Regions from separate parts of the Homo sapiens genome. Here regions 1, 2, 3, 4, 6 and 7 are each linked to region 5. Evidence: promoter capture Hi-C in 16 types of primary human blood cells and fetal thymus (Javierre and others, 2016). All regions are on one chromosome and are shown on one strand. The core of a region is centred on a gene start or on the middle of the fragment in contact, and the rest is flanking DNA. Distances in the headings are between cores, read along the strand shown.

The links. The method cuts DNA at HindIII sites, captures the fragments that hold promoters and counts their contacts. A CHiCAGO score of 5 or more calls a contact.
Region 1: a contact is called between the fragment with the promoter of ESM1 here and the fragment with the promoter of SNX18 in region 5, in 4 of 17 cell types (endothelial precursors, erythroblasts, total CD4 T cells and 1 more). The highest score is 8.2, in endothelial precursors.
Region 2: a contact is called between a fragment that was not itself captured here and the fragment with the promoter of SNX18 in region 5, in 1 of 17 cell types (total CD8 T cells). The highest score is 5.0, in total CD8 T cells.
Region 3: a contact is called between a fragment that was not itself captured here and the fragment with the promoter of SNX18 in region 5, in 17 of 17 cell types (M1 macrophages, M2 macrophages, M0 macrophages and 14 more). The highest score is 27.6, in M1 macrophages.
Region 4: a contact is called between a fragment that was not itself captured here and the fragment with the promoter of SNX18 in region 5, in 1 of 17 cell types (naive B cells). The highest score is 5.7, in naive B cells.
Region 6: a fragment that was not itself captured here is called in contact with the fragment with the promoter of SNX18 in region 5 in 17 of 17 cell types (monocytes, total B cells, M1 macrophages and 14 more); the score reaches 20.1 in monocytes.
Region 7: a contact is called between a fragment that was not itself captured here and the fragment with the promoter of SNX18 in region 5, in 17 of 17 cell types (naive B cells, neutrophils, monocytes and 14 more). The highest score is 29.8, in naive B cells.

What each region holds. Positions count from the first base shown.
Region 1 is chr5:54,984,238-54,986,937 of GRCh38, forward strand. It overlaps ESM1 (endothelial cell specific molecule 1), which reads right to left and starts at 1,356. Exons shown (of 3, transcript NM_007036.5): 1 at 980-1,356. The coding sequence starts at 1,280. The HindIII fragment of the contact is 1,737 bases long and covers 36-1,772 here.
Region 2 is chr5:54,915,541-54,918,240 of GRCh38, forward strand. No RefSeq gene overlaps it. Among named protein-coding and RNA genes, the nearest start is that of ESM1, 69 kb to the right of the region's middle. The HindIII fragment of the contact is 468 bases long and covers 1,122-1,589 here.
Region 3 is chr5:54,898,107-54,900,806 of GRCh38, forward strand. No RefSeq gene overlaps it. Among named protein-coding and RNA genes, the nearest start is that of ESM1, 86 kb to the right of the region's middle. RefSeq lists a silencer at 1,566-1,723. The HindIII fragment of the contact is 5,239 bases long and covers 1-2,700 here.
Region 4 is chr5:54,948,783-54,951,482 of GRCh38, forward strand. No RefSeq gene overlaps it. Among named protein-coding and RNA genes, the nearest start is that of ESM1, 35 kb to the right of the region's middle. The HindIII fragment of the contact is 1,685 bases long and covers 499-2,183 here.
Region 5 is chr5:54,516,467-54,519,166 of GRCh38, forward strand. SNX18 (sorting nexin 18) reads left to right here and starts at 1,293. Exons shown (of 2, transcript NM_001102575.2): 1 at 1,293-2,700. The coding sequence starts at 1,487. RefSeq lists silencers at 1,047-1,288, 1,169-1,728 and an enhancer at 2,201-2,700. The HindIII fragment of the contact is 5,643 bases long and covers 132-2,700 here.
Region 6 is chr5:54,880,434-54,883,188 of GRCh38, forward strand. No RefSeq gene overlaps it. Among named protein-coding and RNA genes, the nearest start is that of ESM1, 100 kb to the right of the region's middle. The HindIII fragment of the contact is 9,105 bases long and covers 1-2,755 here.
Region 7 is chr5:54,859,743-54,862,442 of GRCh38, forward strand. It overlaps the pseudogene CSPG4BP. Among named protein-coding and RNA genes, the nearest start is that of LINC02998, 120 kb to the left of the region's middle. The HindIII fragment of the contact is 7,006 bases long and covers 1-2,700 here.

The DNA.
Region 1 (2,700 bases), core at 106-2,605, 470 kb after region 5:
TTTAGAAATTTCTCAGTCCTTTTTATAATTTTGAAAGCTTCCTGGTATTACACAACTGATGGATGGGGTTATAGCATGTGTTGCTTCTTAATAATAGCTCTTCATAATAAGATCATGAGATATCTATACGTAGAGTATTTTTAAATCATCATTCTTTTTATTCTAAACATTTTTAAAATGTTAAATATTTTAAACTAGTTACTATGTTTAAAATAAATTCTACAAATGCTTAACTACATTATTTAGCTAAAATTTCAACCGACGAAGTTTTTCTTTAAGTGTACAAGTGGTCAACCTCATTCTTTACAGACTTCCAGTTTTTATTTTTCTCTATTGTTATTTTTCCTTGTCTTAACACCATCTGCTATTTTTCCAGATGACCAAAACCTTTATAAAGTCAGATGAGGTTTGTTTTATGCTTCAGGGGACCCTCTTTGAAGAGTGAGTTATTTTGTTAGATGACTTAAGCTCACTCTATTCCATAAAGTGCATTTGTGTTTATCAGAAATATTTGATCTTGAGAGTGGCCCTCCATCCTGTGGACCCTTTCAAGATCAAAGAATCACTAAATCTGGGGGCTAGAAACCATTCCAAGAGGTTATCTAGTGCAGACCTTTGTAATCGCTGCCTCGCAGAGGAGAGAGCACCTAAGCCATCCTTAACAGATTACCTGTCAAGTTTCTAAAGTTTTCCAGAAAAGGAGCCAACACAATCTTCCATTGCAGCTTTCTTTTTGCGATCTCCTAAGGCAACGAGTAAAATGCCACACTTCTTTCTGTGCCTTCCTGCACACTGGTTTCAGTTGCTACTTGGAGCTATCCTTCAGTCTCTACCCATGACAATACCTGTGTGGTGCCTTGTCAAGAATCCACCTGCCTTTTCCCTCTTACTCTTGAGGAGCAAAGCCACCTCACCTCCCAAGCTGGCTAAAAGCTCTCAGCATGCCCCGGGAGGGGAGAGGTAAGGGGTCACTCTTTACCTTTGCAGATACCAAACTCTTCACCAAAAGGATCCTCCCCATTAGAAGGCTGACACCTCAGCCCCGGGCCACACTTCATGCCATCCATGCCTGAGACTGTGCGGTAGCAAGTTTCTCCCCGCCCTGCAGCGCACACTCGGCAGCAGCCACAGTCGTCGAGCACTGTCCTCTTGCAGCGCGGGCTGCTTTTGCACTCACTGCTGTCACAGTGTTGAGGGCAGTCCACCGCATAATTATTGCTCCAGGCGGCCACCAGGTGTGCAGGCACGAGGAGCGTGGTCAGCAGCAAGACGCTCTTCATGTTTCCCAGCTGCCTCCGGCTCGGCTCTCCAGTCGTGGTCTTTGCTGGTGGGAAGCAGCCGTCCAAACTGGTAGCTGAGCCTCTGCCTACACGTTTATGAGTTTTATACACTGGGTTGCCCGCATGCTTTCCCGTCATCAATTTCCTCAACCCAGCAGCAGCGCTGTCCTCCTGCCAGGCTCTCTTGTTTTGGTTTATGAAATCCAGGATGAAGGCTGGATTAACACGCTGCTGCCATCCAGGAATTGAAAAGCCCAAGCTGATGTCATCTGTTATGTTTAGATGGTTGTTTTGCATGAGGACTGAAAAACTCACTCACATCCGTCTCAAGGGCTCAAGGACGTCTGTGAAGGAGGGATAAAGAAGGTTGCACACCCTCCTTCAGGACGGGAATTGTTCTGACCCTGGCATATCACTTGAGGTGTAGCTTTGTCTCAGAGCCTCTGTAGTCAGGAGGAAAATGATATCAACATGAATCATCAGGACCGAAGAAGCTTCTTCAAAAAAAATAATAAACATTTGGTATTTCCCCTCAACAAATAGCTATGAGATCATTTGAAAGAAGAAAGGGTTATATTGTGTCTTTTCAATACTTAGAAGAAAGAAAATATTTTGATAGGGCTATTTTTTAAGACCCTCTCTTCCTTCCTCTCACCCCTCTCCTCAAATGTTATTTCTAAAGCAATTCATGTTACATATATCTAAGCCTATTGTGGATATAGCTGTGCTTCCAGTACAATGTGGAACTGCCTCTGAGAATTTCTTTTAAAATCAATACAAAAAGCCACAAGAGAGGTAAGATCCTTTCGGCACTGCTTCTGGGTTACTCAATTCTGGAAAAACTTATCAGTTGGACTTCTGATCCAAAACTTCCTCAGGGGAAGGCTCATCCATCACTAAGTCTGCTTGTCCAATGACGGAGTCCACCCAGAGCCCTTCCCCTCACCTCCTGGCATCTATCAGAGCCCTCACTAAAAACTGCCAAGCGCGGCAGCCAGCCCAAGGCAACAAGTGGCTCAGCAGGAAAATCAGAACACAGCCCCCAAGAAACAAGTCACAGGGAAGGGAAACATTACCCCTCAGGAAACAAGGTCTGCATGCTAAGAGGGTTACCGTGCCTAGGTCCCTCTGGGAAAACAGAGTAGCCCTCTTAAAATATCAACTGTGCCAGGGTCTTATTAAGTAAGGTTAAAGAGGAGAGAGGGGAGTTCTTACACCAACCACATGCCGAATTCCATGCCCCCACCTCACTTGTCAAAAGAGATATAGACTCACTGTCACTTAGTAAATAACAACCCAGTAAAGTGGGTAATTCTTGGTCTGTCACAAATGAGCTGTAAGAAATTCACAGGACTTCTCTTGGCCTCAGCTTCCTCTTTTGAGAATTGATGGTGTTAGGCTACCTGACCTCTAAAATTCT
Region 2 (2,700 bases), core at 106-2,605, 400 kb after region 5:
TCAAGGTGTAAAGCTATTTAATTATTGCATATCCTGAAGCATTCTTGTAATGGCCGTCATCTGGCCCAGTGAGCCAAGGCTGTGTCTGACCTGCTGAACCAGGTCAAACAAACTGTAGGACTGTACAGAGTATATTTTCATTTTTATGCACAGATAAGGCTTTCCAAGCAAAGGAAACTAAAACCCGGTTTAGAGGACAAACCTTAGAAGTTAAAGGGTGTTAGATCTGAAGCCATCTGTTCCCATTAACAGGACAAATAAAATTTATATCTTCAGGAGCCAAATATTTACATTCCAGGGTAGGAACTTTCCCCTTTCTCTTCCTGTAAGAATTTATTTACATTCAAAAGACTATAAATGACTAGGGAGCACAGATTTTTCTCTTTCTCTAAGAAAGAGGGAGGGAAAAACAGCCATCATGCTCCTACAGAAACGGACAGATTCATAATTTGGGGGTTCCTCTTCTGTGGTGCAAAAAGCCTCTTTTGTACATGCATGGGGATTTTGATGGGGATTATATTGAATCTGTAAGTCAATTTGGGAAGTATTGTCATCTTAACTATATTAAGTATCGCAATCCATGAACATGAGATGTCTTTCTAATTATTTAGGTCTTTAATTTATTTCAGCAATGTTTTCTAGTTTTCAGTGTACGTAAGTCTTGCTCTTCCTTGGTTAAATTTATTTCTAAGTATTTTATTATTTTTGATATTATTGCAACTGGAGTTGTTTTCATAATTTCCTTCTTGAGTTGTACATTATTGGCTGTACAAAAATACACCCATTTTTGTACATCAATTTTAAATCCTGAAAACTTGCTGAATGAACTCAGTTATTGGCTCAGGTTTTTGGTGAATTCTTTAGAGCTTTTTTTAAATCTGTAAGACCATGTCATCTTCAAATAAAGATTGGTTTTATTTCTCTTAAATTGATTTTATTCCTTCTCTTCCAACCTGAATGCATCTTGTTTCTTTTCTTACCTAATCAGACTGGCTAGAATCTTTAGTATAATGCTGAACAGAAGTGGTGAGAGCAAATTGTGTTGGCTAGAACCTCTAGCATGATGCTAAACAGAAGTGGTAAGAGCAAACATCCTCCTCTTCTTCCTGATCATAGGGGAAAGCTTTAAGTCTTTCACTTTTAAGTGTATTAGCTGTGGGTTTTTCATAGGTGCCCTTCATCAAATTGAGCAAATTCTCTTCTTTCCCAGTTTGCTGAGTAATTTTTTTAAAATCATAAAATGGTGTTAAATTTTGTTGGAGTATTTTTTGGTATCTATTGAGATTATCATGGTTTTCTTTCAATTTTTTTCTATTAATATAGTGTATTACATTGATTGATTTTCATATGGTGAGCCAACCTTGTTTTCCTGGGATAAATTTCACTTGGTTGTGGTATATGATTCTTTTTATATATTGCTAGATTCAGCTTGCTAGTATGTTGTAGAGGATTTTTGCATCTCTATTAATTGGTAATATTGGCAGGTAGTCTCCTTTTTTGTGATGTCCTTATCTGATTTTGAAATCATGGTAATCTGACCTCATCAAATTAATTGGGAATAATTCCCTCCTCTTCCATTTTTTGGGAAAAGCTTGGGAAGGATTGGTGTTAATTCTTGTTTAAATATGTGGTGGAATTCACCAGTAAAGCCATCTGGTCCTGAACTTTAATTCGTGAGTTAAAAAAAATGAATAACACAATCTCTTTACTTGTTATAGGCCTATTTAGATTTTCTGTGTCTTCTTGAGTCAATGTTGGTAGTTTGTGTCTTTATAGGAATTTGTTCATTTTACCTAGGTTATCTAATTTGTTGGCATACACTTGTTATTAGTATTCTCTTATAATCCTTTGTATTTCAGTAATGTCCCCTAGTTTTGGTTTTTTACAGTAATAGTTTACATTATTGACTCAAGATTTTTCTTCTTTTAAATGTAGATATTTACAAGTATAAATTTCCTTCTGAGCATTATTTTTTTTGCTGATTCCATAAATTTGGGTGTTTTGTGTTTTTATTTGCATTCATCTCAAATAATTTTTGAATTGCTCTTTTGATTTCTTCTTTGACCAACTGGTAATGTAAAACTGCTCTTAATTTCCACACATGTATAAGTTTCCCAGAATATTTTATTTTATTGATTTCTAATTTCATTCTATTGTCATTGGAAAACAGACTTGGTATGATTTCAATTCTTTTTAAATTATTGAGATGATTTTATGTTGTAAAAGATGTTCTATTCTGGATAATTTTCCATGTGCACTTAAGAATAATGTGCCTTAGGTTGGACCCATCTGACAAAGGGCTAATATCCAGAATCTACAAAGAACTTAAACAAATTTATAAGAAAAATTCAAACAATCCCATCAAAAAATGGGCAAAGGATATGAACAGACACTTCTCAAAAGAAGACATTTATGCAGCCAACAGACACATCTCATCATCACTGGCCATCAGAGAAATGCAAATGAAAACCACAATGAGATACCACCTCAAACCAGTTAGAATGGCAATCATTAAAAAGTCAGGAAACAACAGGTGCTGGAGAGGATGTGGAGAAATAGGAATGCTTTTACACTGTTGGTGGGAGTGTAAACTAGTTCAACCATTGTGGAAGACAGTGTGGCGATTCCTCAAGGATCTAGAACTAGAAATACCATTTGACCCAGCCATCCCATTACTGGACATATACCCTAAGGATTATA
Region 3 (2,700 bases), core at 195-2,694, 380 kb after region 5:
CACCCCAAGGACACAGGCTCTTTACACTTGCAGTTTCCTCTGCTTGTGATGCTTATAATACAGACAGCATCCAACTTAGCAAGGTTCAACATTCAATGTCTCTGCTTTGAATGGTGCAAAGGTGATGCACATTCAGTGCACTCCTTAGCTCCCGATGGGGTTGCATCTGGATAAACCCATTGTAAATTGAAAATACCGTAAGTTGAAAACACACTGTTGACTAACAATATTTTCAACTTATGATAGGCTTATGAGGTTCCTGATGGGCTTCTAGGGACATAACCCCATTGTAAAATGAGGAGCATCTGCGTCCTCATGGCTTGTCCCATGCTGCTGTCTCTGCTTAAATGTACTCTAACTGGTGAGGACTCCCATAGTCACCATAGATAACAGCTCCTCCATTCTGCATAAGCTGCTTTTTCTCCACAACATTGATAACCATCTGGTATACATAGATCCTTATTTATAGTTTTCCTTCCCACTCTAATGTAAACTCTATGTGGCAGAGACTTGGTATGGTCACTGAGCAACCCCAATGCCTGCAGCAGTGCTTGGGCCATAATGGGTTTTCAATGACTATCTGTGGAATGAATGAATGAATGAATAAGTGGATACTAAGAGTATTCATGCAATGTCTGTTTTCATGAAATTTTGATAAGCCCTCATGATCAAATTGTGGAGATATTCTAAGAAAATAATTACATCTTGATTCTTTTGAGTAGGTGAATTGCCCCTTTTTTCCCCTCAGAAAAATCTGTTGGGCAGGTAAGCTACACTCAGTAGCTTAAGATGAGTCTCAATCCTGGGACTCAAGTGTTTTAACTCCAAATTCCATCCCATTTCCGTAGCCCAACATGTATCCTTTCCTTTAGCACAGAGAAAGAAGTCTTCTTTTGGAAAGCGTCATTTCCTTTCACTGTCTCCGCTTTCTCACCTCTTTTGGAGTTTAGTCTCTTTTTGACCAACCTCAACCCAGCCTCGTCATCCCTGCACCCGGCATCTTGTTACAGGCACTAGAGTTACTTATTCAGGGCAAACCTCCACTTGCCTCTAGATCCCATTCCCTTCTGCTTCTTCAAGGCGTCTCTCTCTCTCTTTTTCTTTCTCTCCTGCAATCTTCAATATCCCCCTCTCTATTTTTCCAGCTAAAAAGGATATTCTAATCCTAAAAATCCCTTTCCTGATATTATAGTCCCTTCACCATACCTAACTTCCCCCCAACTCTTCTGATCCAACTCTTTGAAGCACATGATGTCCCCTTCTCTTTGCACCCATTCAATCAGGGCAGTATAATTTCTGTTTCCTGCTGAGCTACTGAAGGTAGGATGAGATGAGAGCAGAAAGCGCCAATCACCACACCTGATGGTACTCTCTGTTCTCATCTCGCCCTACATTCAGTAGCATTCAAACTGACTGCTCTTTCCTTGAAATCCTTTCCTTTCTTGGCTTCCATAAAGCAACAGGCTCTGTGTTAACCTCCCACTTCAGTGACTGCACCTGCTTAGTCTCCTCTGCTAGCTCCATGTCCTCTAAGCCATCTCTGCACTCAGAGCTCAGCCCTACCTGCTCTCTTCTTCTCCATCTACAAATTTTTTCCCGCCCCATGGTTTGAAGTACTACATGGAAAGGACTCCCAAATTCATACTTCTGGTTCTGAGGGGCCCCCTGGGTTTCAGCCTTACTTGTGTATCCAAAGCCCTTGTTATGGACCAAATGTCTGGCCTTCTCCCCCACCTCCCTGCCCAAATTCAAATGCTGAAATCCTAACCCTCAATGTGATGGTATTAGGAGTGGGGGCCTTGAGAGGTAATTCGATCTTGAAAATGGAGCCCACATTAATGGGATTAGTTTCCTTATTGGGAGAGACCAGAGAGCTAGCTTCCTCTCTCTGTTCTCTACCATGTGAGGATACGATGAGAAGACAGCTGTCTACAAACCAAGGAGAATGCCCTCACCAGACACTGGATGTGCAGGCACCTTGATCTTGGACTTCCCAGCTTCTAGAACTATGAGAAATAAAATGTTTGTTATTTAAGCCACCCAGTCCATGGGGCCTTATGTTATGACAGCCTGAACTGAATAAGATAGGCCTGCTTGCCATTTTCCCCCAGTTGTCAAATAGTCATCTCAAAATTAATGTGACAAAAATGGAAGCCTTGACTTCTGCTCTGCAAGCCTGGTCCTCCTCTCATCCCCTTCATCTCTGTAATAGCACCACCATCTATCTCATGGTTCAAGTCCAAACCTTACGAATCAACACTCATTCATCTCTTTTCCTTATACCCAAAGTCCTGTTAGCCCTACATCTAAACATGACTCAAATCAATCTGCTTCTCTCCATCTCTGTTGCTGCTCTAATCCAAGTGACCATCGATGCTGTGTTATCTCCCCAGGGTCTGGACCAGCAGCTGACACAGCATGTACTCAATAAGTAGTTGATGAAGAAATGAAGAAATTAATATGAAATTTTTTTCTATTTGAAGTTGTCAGTTTACCATTTTCATAGGAGAGTAATGGAAAGCCAGCCAAACTATTTTACAGCAGAACTCAGAGACCTCAAGGAAAATTTAGAAGTCAGTAAAGTGTGTATCTTAATACCCCCAAATGCCAGTCCTGCTTTTGTTCCCATGGGGACCCTTCTATTCCTCTGCCATCTTCATAATTTCTCAGAGTAAAAACCTACCCTGAAGAAAGGGGCTG
Region 4 (2,700 bases), core at 91-2,590, 430 kb after region 5:
GCAGCTTCTACTGGCTCAAGAAGGCCAAGGTATGTGTCTCTTCCCAGCCCTAAGTCCAGTGGCATACAGGTAGCTGTAATCATCCATGGTAGAATATTTATACCATAGAAATCATCATACAAAACTAGTTGGGGATTTTTCCCCCTGAGAACTGGTTGTTAGACATTTACCAGCACGCACTGAGTGTATATGCACATATGTACACCAGAGAATCTAGGTATGTGTGTGTGTGTGTGTGTGTGTGTATATATATTCATATTCATATATGTATATATACAGATATATGTTTTGATGGCTAAGTAGAGTGAGAACAGATGAAGACTATGAGACTTCATCATCAAGGAAACAATGTGAGCAGTGACAAGGAGAGTGCTGATGTCCAGTGTGTACTTTAGGAACACAGAATCATGTGTTGCAGCCAGGGTGAAAAGTGTGTGAGGAAGAGAGTAGGAGGTAGGTCTGGAAAGACTTCTAGGGGACTGAATGTAAAAGATTTTAAGCTTCACTAAGAATACTGCAAGTACTGGTGGTTCATTAGAGACTTTAGCAGCAGAAATAGCATAATCTGTTGTGCATTTTGTAAAAATGAAGAAGAAATGGAAAGGCTAGAGATGGGAAGCAGTAAAGCCAGTTGGGAAGTGATTTCCATTGTCTGTAACAGAAATGAGAGAATTGAACCATGGCAGTAGCAGCAGGGAAGAAGAAAGGTTGAAAGTTGAGAGTGATTTTAGACTTAGAATCAACAAGATTTGATAATTATTTGATGTGTTGAGGGAGAAAGAGAAGTAAGAAAAAAAGGGATGGAGAATGTGAGAGATGCCTGGCTTGGGAAGTGAGATCAAAAAATTAGATCAGAGCCTGGCACGGTGGCTCACACCTGTAATCCCAGCACTTGGGAGGCCGAGGTGAGTGGATCATTTGAGGTCAGGAGTTCGAGACCAGCCTGGCCAACATGGTGAAACTCTGCCTCTACTAAAAATTAGCCAGGGGTGGTGGCAGGTGCCTGTCGTCCCAGCTACTTGGGAGGCTGAGGCAGGAGAATCACTTGAACCCAGGAGGCGGAGGTTGCAGAGAGCCAAGATCATGCCACTGGACTCCAGCCTGGGTGACCGAGCAAGACTCCATCTCAAAAAAAAAAAAAATTCAGCTTGGATATAAATAATGACTGATATGGATTGCGGTATTTAAACATCCACCCTAGATCACACAATTGTGTAACTCTATTTTCAACACTATATCAGTTAAAAGCAACACCTAAAGTCCATGTACAGAAAGATCTCAAGTAGGAGTTATTCCTCAATTGACAACCTGAAGGGCCGGACAATTGAGTGTTTCCTGTGTGAGGGTTTTGTCAGATGAATGAAGCAAAAAGCCAGAGGTCCAAACAAATTTGAGAAATTGGCAAGAGCTGTTTTGTTTTGTTTTGATGTGATTTTCAAAATTGATGTACCATGAAATCCCAGATGAATAAGGAAGGAAGTGGAGATGTGAAGAGGCCAGTGGATTGGAAACTGAAGGTCCCGATATGGCTTAAGAGTATTCATGATGTGATTAATTGGGCAGATTGAAAGGAGGACAGACTGTAGTCAGACAGCAAATTATCTGAATTTGTGATTTGGAAGGTAACACAGTTATGAGCAATTTTGGTCCAAAGTAGACTGTGGATTTACTGGGTAAAAAGAAGAGAAGGCATTGTAGATAAGACGGTGGTGGCTGTGAGAGGTCCCAGTGTTGGATGGATTGTCCACAAGGTTATAAAGTGACCCAGGGTGACAATTTAACAGGATACCTGTGAGCCAAGAGTCCAAGTCATCAGCAATGGAGGGGAAGACAGCCGGAGGCTGGTAGGTGACCAGTAAGGAGGAAGAAATGGTAGCATAGTTGAATGACAGGAACCTTGAAGGCCCAGGGTTTTTGCTCCCATTTTGCAAGCAGAAGAAGAGTGTTTTCTGGCATCAGATTGCCAAGATCGGAGGTGCCTAGAACCCCTAAATTTCCCAGCCTGTAGAATTTTAAATCAATCTCCGAGATGTCTGCCCTTTCAAAATCACATCTTTGCTTTTTAGGACACTGCTTCTGGTTGTACTGGGTTCACTCAGACATAATATTAGCTCCTTTGCTGAGTTCCACCTAGTAAAACCTCACTCATCCTAGGGGCTTGAGAGCAAGGTAGACTTTGCTGAAGCTTTTGGGTTTGTTTGAAGGTGATGGAAAACACATTTGCAATGGAACAACACAAACAACTGCAAATTAAATCACAACCATCACTGTCTTTGAAATGTTCCCAGCTAACCCACCAGTGAGTGGTTTGAGCTTCATGACTGGTCACATTACCTGAACCCAGCCTTGCTACATCTTGCTGGTTCCTCTCTTCCTCTGCTGTCTCATCTTTCCCACCCTATTCAGTCTACGAAATGGAACATTATTTTAATTGCCTAGATAAACTTGCTAACATCTCCGTTTCTAAAATGCTTAGATCTTGGTGTATAACTGACCTAGGAAGTTCTAGCCTAGAGGTCATTATGTAAGTAGGAACTGTTCACATGAAGAACAGAATGCCGGAAGTAACAGGCTGTATAGACAGCTGGAGAAGCAGCACTGTATCACTAGGCTGAGATCAAATGACCTTCTCTCTTCCCAAGAGAGAGACAAATTCCCTTCCTTCTTCATGCAGAATTCTTCTTCTCTCTTTCGTAAAGC
Region 5 (2,700 bases), core at 43-2,542:
TCCCAGGTTTCCTTGAAAAGGGTCAGAGGACAGGCTGAAATTAATGACACATGAATGCAGAACCTCAATTAGAAGTGTCTTCAAAGGAATAATTAGGCTAGACTTAATAAGAGGGGATTAAGAGAAGAAAAAGCTTTGGGCAAATTATACACTGAAGGAAAGGAAGATAGGAAACAAGGCAACGATAGATTGGAGCTGATTATTTCAGGAAGTGATTTTTGTTCTATTTATCTTAAAAATAATATAAATATAGTGAGACATAGAGACAACAGATGGATGGATGGTCACTGACCTCTTACTAGGAGTGGCAATGTGAACATTGGGACGCTTCCTGGTGCATGTACCCTGCAATTGTTAGTTTAGTACCCCTATTCCCTTTGTGAAAGAGGCCAGGGATTTTGCTTCCCCCAAATAACAGTAACAGCAGCAAAAGCAGCAACAAACCCTTCAAATCTGCTTACCCTGCCAGATATTGTTTCACTTTCCTCATCTGTAAAATAGGGATTACTTTATGATGGAATCCCCACAACAACCCCCGGAGGTAGGTACGATATAAGTGCCTTGTTCCAGGTCATACAGCTAGGTAGTGTCAGAACACAGATTGAAATTCAGAAGCCTGGCTCCGAAGTTTGAGCTCTCATTCACCGCACTACATATATCTATGGGAGGATAGGCGACACATGCATGTAATAAATGTGTGAGCATTTATTGTACTGGAAACTCTCCAGCTCCTCCCTCTCTACATGATCCTTTGCTTCTAATTTTGTCAATCACAGCACCTTCCCTGGCCCTTACTTTGTTCTTGCCAATCTCCTCTCCTTGAGCAGAAGAGGGAAGGGAGCCTGCTCTGTAGGTGAACAGCTCCTCCGCAGAGGCATCCTGTTTTCTTAGTGCAATCACTAATTCGCATTGCAAAATGCTTTATTACATGACTGGGTTGCCATTCTAGGAGCATTCACTGAGCGCTCAGAGTGGGAACGTTTATCAGGCATGCAAATGCTAACTTACTTTCTAGAGAATGTTTAACTTAAAAGCCTAAAGAAATCTCAGATAATTCACTTCGGAGTAGAAACCTCCTTCAGCCGCGCTCACTACGGCGCCCGGCTTCGCGGCACCGGCCACTAGAGGGCAGTGGCCGCCGCAAAGCCGACGCGGGCGGTGGGCTCGGCGGCTCGGCCATCGCTTGCTCTCGCCTGGCAAGGGGCTCTCGGCCGTGGATTAGCGCAGCTGGAGACGTGGGAGGCCGCGGGCCCCGCCCCCGACCGGCGGCGGCTGCGGCGGCCCAGCGCGGCAGTCGGCGCTGCGAAGTGGAGGCGCTGCGAGCGGAGCCGCGCGGAGGGCGCGACCGGCTGGTCCGGGCAGCGTGGGTTTGCCGCCTTCGGGGCTCCAGTCCGCGCGCCAGGGCTCGAGCAGTACCGCGGGCCCCTCAGGTGGGCCTCGGCTCGGGACGCCGGGAGTCGGGACCGCCAGTCGGGGCGCCGGGACCATGGCGCTGCGCGCCCGGGCGCTGTACGACTTCAGGTCGGAGAACCCAGGAGAGATCTCGCTGCGAGAGCACGAGGTGCTGAGCCTGTGCAGCGAGCAGGACATCGAGGGCTGGCTCGAGGGGGTCAACAGCCGCGGCGACCGCGGCCTCTTCCCGGCCTCCTATGTGCAGGTGATCCGCGCCCCCGAGCCTGGCCCGGCGGGAGACGGCGGCCCGGGCGCCCCGGCCCGCTACGCCAATGTGCCCCCCGGGGGCTTCGAGCCCCTGCCTGTCGCGCCCCCCGCCTCCTTCAAGCCGCCGCCTGACGCCTTCCAGGCGCTGCTGCAGCCACAGCAGGCGCCGCCTCCGAGCACCTTCCAGCCGCCCGGCGCGGGCTTCCCGTACGGCGGGGGCGCCCTGCAGCCGTCGCCTCAGCAGCTCTACGGCGGCTACCAGGCCAGCCAAGGCAGCGATGATGACTGGGACGACGAGTGGGACGACAGCTCCACGGTGGCGGACGAGCCGGGCGCTCTGGGCAGCGGAGCATACCCGGACCTCGACGGCTCGTCTTCGGCGGGTGTGGGCGCAGCCGGCCGCTACCGCCTGTCCACGCGCTCCGACCTGTCCCTGGGTTCCCGCGGCGGCTCGGTCCCCCCGCAGCACCACCCGTCGGGGCCCAAGAGCTCGGCCACCGTGAGCCGCAACCTCAATCGCTTCTCCACCTTCGTCAAGTCCGGCGGGGAGGCCTTCGTGCTGGGGGAGGCGTCAGGCTTCGTGAAGGACGGGGACAAGCTGTGCGTGGTGCTGGGGCCCTATGGCCCCGAGTGGCAGGAGAACCCCTACCCGTTCCAGTGCACCATCGACGACCCCACCAAGCAGACCAAGTTCAAGGGCATGAAGAGCTACATCTCCTACAAGCTGGTGCCCACGCACACGCAGGTGCCGGTGCATCGGCGCTACAAGCACTTCGACTGGCTGTACGCGCGCCTGGCGGAGAAGTTCCCGGTCATCTCCGTGCCCCACCTGCCCGAGAAGCAGGCCACCGGCCGCTTCGAGGAGGACTTCATCTCTAAGCGCAGGAAGGGCCTGATCTGGTGGATGAACCACATGGCCAGCCACCCAGTGCTGGCGCAGTGCGACGTCTTCCAGCACTTCCTGACGTGCCCCAGCAGCACCGACGAGAAAGCCTGGAAGCAGGGCAAGAGGAAGGCCGAGAAGGACGAGATGGTGGGCGC
Region 6 (2,755 bases), core at 216-2,715, 360 kb after region 5:
TCGTTGCCCAACTAGTGTGGGAGTTTGCCAGGCCCCAGCCACAGGCATGGGAGTCAGTGCTGTAGCCAGACTCACTCCCCACAGGGACAGAACCTTCTCTAAAGCCCCCAGCCTAACATTGGTAGCTCTTCCAGCCCCTCATTCCTCTCTGATGGCACTGCCATCTCATGCCCCCATAAGATTATATGGCCATTGAATTATCTCTTTTACTAAGACAAAAACTCCCTGTATAAGTTTCCTGTTGCTACTATAACAAATTGCCACAAATTGAGTGGCTTACACTAACACAAATTTATTATCTTATAAGTTCTGGAGGTCAGAATCTGAAAGCGGTCCCATTGAGCTAAAATCGAGGTGTCTGAAGGGCTGCCTTCCTTCTAGAGGCTCTAGGGGAGAATCTATTTTCTTCATTTTCCAGCTGCTAGAGGCCACCTGCTTTCCTTGGCGTGTGGCCCCAGCCAGCAATCACACCTCTTCAACCTCAGCTTCCCATCTCCTCCTCCAACTCTCACTCTCCTATTTCCCTCTTATAAGACCCTTCTGATATTCAGGGCCCATTCAGATAACCCAGGATCCTCTCTTCATTTCAAAATCCTAAATATAATCATATCTACAAAGTCCCTTTTCCCATATAAAGCAATATATTCACACATTCAGAGATTAGGACATGAACATCTCTGGGGGCCTGGTTTTCTGCCTACCACACTCCCCAGGAGCATTCTATCCTTCAGTCACTTGTACTTAATGAGCATCTATTATTTGTAGGTTAATGGACTATGTGCTGGGAATACAGAGGTCAATAAGGCAGTAGCTAAGGGCCTCCGGAGCAAAGGCCGAGAGGGCTTTATGGTGATTTGTATGTCCTGTACAGCCCTATTTAAAAAGAAAAAAGTTAAAACCAGGAGATTTTAAAGAAAAACCTGGACTTTTTGGCTTCTCTAGAAAAGCCAGATGGTCAGGGCACCCTGGGACTCATTAGTTCCCACAACATAGCAACCATGTATGGGGTGTGGATGCTTCAACCACAGGGTACCCACCACTCTGCGTCACCTCCTGCCACACTAAGTGGCTGCTTGGCTCACTATGACTCACTGGCTCCTGAAAACATTAGGGTTTGGGCACCACAGCTTTGGAGAAGAAATGGTAACGTGGGATGCCAAGTTATTTACTTTGGAACCAAAAGAAAATGTTAGGACTTCTGGGGTTGTTGTATCTAAAAACCAGTAAGAACTGAAGATTTTTTTCATTTGAAATTTACAGACTGATTGACATCCTGTCTCAACTGGCATGAGACGGCCTCACCTGCTGAGTGTGAGTTTCATCTGCTCAGTACACAAGTCTCCTAAGGGATGGGTGGGGCTTCTACAATGTAGAAAGTGACTGTGATGCCCTCTCTCTCTCCCCACATTCAGTACACACCACCGGCAGGTTTGCCTGGATAACTGGGTCTACTAATTGCATTATCTCACTGTAACTAAACAAGTCCTGACAAATATGATCAGGAGCTTACAAAATTCCTCCAAACAAACCACAGGCTAAAGCTATATACAAATAATGTAAGGACCAGTAACGCAGAGGAACAAGCGATGCTGGTGATTCTCTTCCTGGACAAGTTCTCCACCAGCCTTGTTACAAGGTAAGGCAGTAATACGCTAAGGAGATCTGACAAGAAGGTAGTCAAACAATGAGAAATTATTGAACCATTGAACCATTGAACCATTGATTGAGTCTAGTGCTGAGTGGTCTAGTTTTGGTAGCACTAATAGATGATTTACAAATAAAGATATTTCTATCTAGACAGTATTTTGTCACTAGACAAAGGTGGTTTCCCACCGTGATGAAACTTGCCAAGCCCAGGACACGTCACCCTTTGTTCTTCAAGGACTGAGAGCAGAACCGACCTAAAGGCAATAGCCTGAATCACCCAAGGAGCTAAGGAAGAAACTTAAATTCATATAATGCATCTGGCTACTCAAGAAAATATTCTTCCAAGTATGCCAAAGTAGATTTGAATAAGACTTTGGTATTCAATATTTGTCATGCCATCGGCACCATGGATGAAGAACAGCATATATGCTAAAATATATGCTATGGAATTCTTTATTCAATAAATCTCCATTACCCACATTCTCTCCCCTAAATGGATTTCTAATCCACTGGCACTTACCCAAGGTAATTGCACAGATGGGGAGGAAAGGAGGGTAATGAGTAGGAAAGGATGGAAATGAGTATTTAATGAGTGGTTCTCAGGCTGCTAGGCAGTCTTACATAGTATTTTATTTAAGCCTCTCTGAAGAAGCTATCATCATCTCCATTTTACATAGATAAAAATCAAGACTCAGAGAAGTAACTTCCCCAAATTCTAAGAATATAGGACAGCACCCTGATTGAAGCCACATCCATCTGACTGCAATGCTTCCTATCACCCTACACTGACCACTTGGATCACTGGATCCTTGCCCATCACCACCCAATCTGTCCCCGCGTGGCACTCACTGCACTCTCAGATCTCCCTGGCCTGCAACTCACATCTTCCCCCTCAAAGCCACAGTCACAGTAGCCCTAGGCCTCCAGTTCCCTGTGCTATCCACTCTGGGAACCAGGCAGGAATGGGCGGGGAAGCGGTACAGGAAAATCCAGGACGGAAGGAGCAGAGCTGAGAACAGAGCCCGGCCTCCCCACTGCCACAAGGGGAAGGTGAGGCATCCTCTACTCCAGGGGTGGGTCATCGCTGGAAGGTGCTGCAAAGCTCCTA
Region 7 (2,700 bases), core at 29-2,528, 340 kb after region 5:
TTTAATTTTAAATAAAGGAGGTTAAAAACAGAAATTTATATTCTCACATTTCTGGAGGCTGGAAGTCTGAGACCAGAGTGCCAGCATGGTCAGCTTCTGGTGAGAGCTCTCTTCCTGGTATGTAAATGCCCACTTCCTCATGTCTTCACATGATGGAGACCAACAAATAGGTCAGTCAGTCTGTCTCTCTCTCTGTCTTTCGCTCCTCTCTTCTCGCTCTCTCTCTCTCTCTCTCTCTCCCCTGCCATCTCTCAACATAATTTCATGATACTTCCTAAAGATCCTATTTTCACATATAGTCACACTGGGATTTGGAGCTTCAACATATGAATTTTGGGGGTTATCATTCAGTCCAAAGTACTTAATATGATTCTTTTCCCTTTCCACATAGGCAATCACATAATCTGTAAATAATGACTCTTATTTTTCCACTTCAGTCATTAGTTATCTCTCTATATATACTTTTTCTTGCTTTACTGGACTGATTTCAACGTGCAGCACAACACCAACTAAAAGTAGTAATATCAGCATAATTGTCTGCAGTTCTGCTGAGATATGTGCTCCATTTTATTGGCTTGGCTGTAGGTTTTTATTTTTTTTTATTTTTTGAAGAGGCTATCTCCTAGAGGAAAGATTTCTTTTTATATCCAGTTTTTACATGATGAATGATTTCCCAATATTTCATAATTTGTGAGGCTGAATTCCTCTTGAATTTATTAAATGCTTCCTGTGCATCCTCAAAAAAAAAAAAAGATTAAGGAGGAACAAAGCGATTGAGCAATGTGGTGTAGCAGAGAGAATGCTGGACTGATCATCAGAAGATCTGAGGTAAAAGTGCTACCTTAACATGAAAGTGTGTTGTTAGTGACTAATTTTTGAGGCTGGTAATCGCTTTGTTTGACAATTCAAACTGTTAGATTTCAGCTCTGAAACTTCTATTCATCCATTGCTTGAGTTTCTCCTTTAGAGACATATGGACGAGAGCAACTATTAAGTTTGCCCAAATTTCTCTTTTCTAAACTAAGTATGCGTTGGTCCTTTAACTGTTCTTTGTATGTGAGGTTATATTTCCTACTGAGGTTATACTTCTATAATCCTGCTCCTTCTCCTTCAGAATACAATAGGTTTTTGTGCAACTAATAAAGGATGCTACCCGTAACTACCTAACATACATCCCCTGTGGACAGACTGTGATGAATTACACTGAAATCAACCACACAGATCTCCCTCTCTATAATAATCCAAATGCAAGCATTTACTTTTACTTTTGTCATATTTTATCCTTTTTTTTTTTTTTTTTGAGATGGGGTCTTACTCTGTCACCCAGGCTGGAGTGCAGTGGCATGATCTCAGCTCACTGCAACCTTCACCTCCCAGGCTCAAGCGATCCTCACACCTCAGCCTCCCAAGTAGTTGGGAAGACAGGCACCCACCACCATGCCCAGGGAATTTTTTTGTATTTTTGGTAGAGAGGAGGTTTCACCATGTTGCCCAGGCTGGTCAGATTTCATCCTTTTAATGTTTGCTCTGAAATCGTCCTCCAGAGAATTAGTTATTCCTCTTGGATTTGTCATAACCACAACTTTGATCAAAATGCCTTTCATGTCTTTAAAACTCTGATGGAAATATTGAAGAGCACAGAATCAAAATCAGAGACCAAGAGGATTATAAAACTAAAAGGGAACTTAGCTGCAGTGAGTCTGTGACCCAAACGTACAGCAGAGAACTCCCAAACCCCAAAAGGAGTAGCTGAACTTCTGAAAAAGTATCTGGGATTGTGTTTATTTTGATAAAATACAGCCAAAATTTTTAACAGTTCAAGTTCACGCATTCCTGTGGCATACTTCCTCTGAGTAAAGTCTTTTGATCTTTCAGAGGTGTTTCTGACAAGAGTTGAAAAGTTCATGAAGGGTCTCAAGAGAAAGTTGTGTCCACTCGTACAGAGGTGCTATGAGAATTTCTTTGGAGTTCTGTGGGCAGAAGAATTCCAGCTCATGGCCTGTGCATGTGCTCCTGGAACATGCTGTCTTAAGCTATTTGAAAACAAACATGGAAGATGGCTCTAAGCAGAATGTGGGAGAAGTTTTAATGCACTTTAGAAATGTAACCTTTAAATACCAGTCATGTTCAGAGTATTTCTCCCGGAAAAATACATCATTTCTTTAATGGAGTGGCACTTCCCAAAATGACATGCCATTTAATAATATTAATCTGAAGGCAAAGAGAGGGTATGTTGGGGATTTGTCTATCCCTAGACTTCTAAAACCAGAACAATACCTGCTGGCCTGAAATTAAAGGATACAACAAACTAATGGAAAATCTTGACAGATTCAAAAGTATTTGGTCCCCTGTCACCAACTCCGTTCAGGGACATCTTTGGCGCTCCTCTGCTCACACCTTCTCATCCCCCAGTGCTCCCCTCTCACTCCTTACTCCAGGTCAAAGGTGAAGCCTCGGGCCCTCCCACACCTGATCTGCTGACTCATCTGCTGTGCTCCCCACCACGCCTGCAGCACCAGCCACACTGGATGACTTGCTGCTCCTCGGACACACCAGGCATGCTCCCCACACAAAGCTGTTGCTCTTGCTCTTCCTTCTGCCTGAATGTTTTTCCAATATACACTTAGCTCACCTATCCATCACCTCCTCCGGGGTCTGCTCAAATGCTGCTTTCTCAACGGTGCCTTCCTTCACCACTCT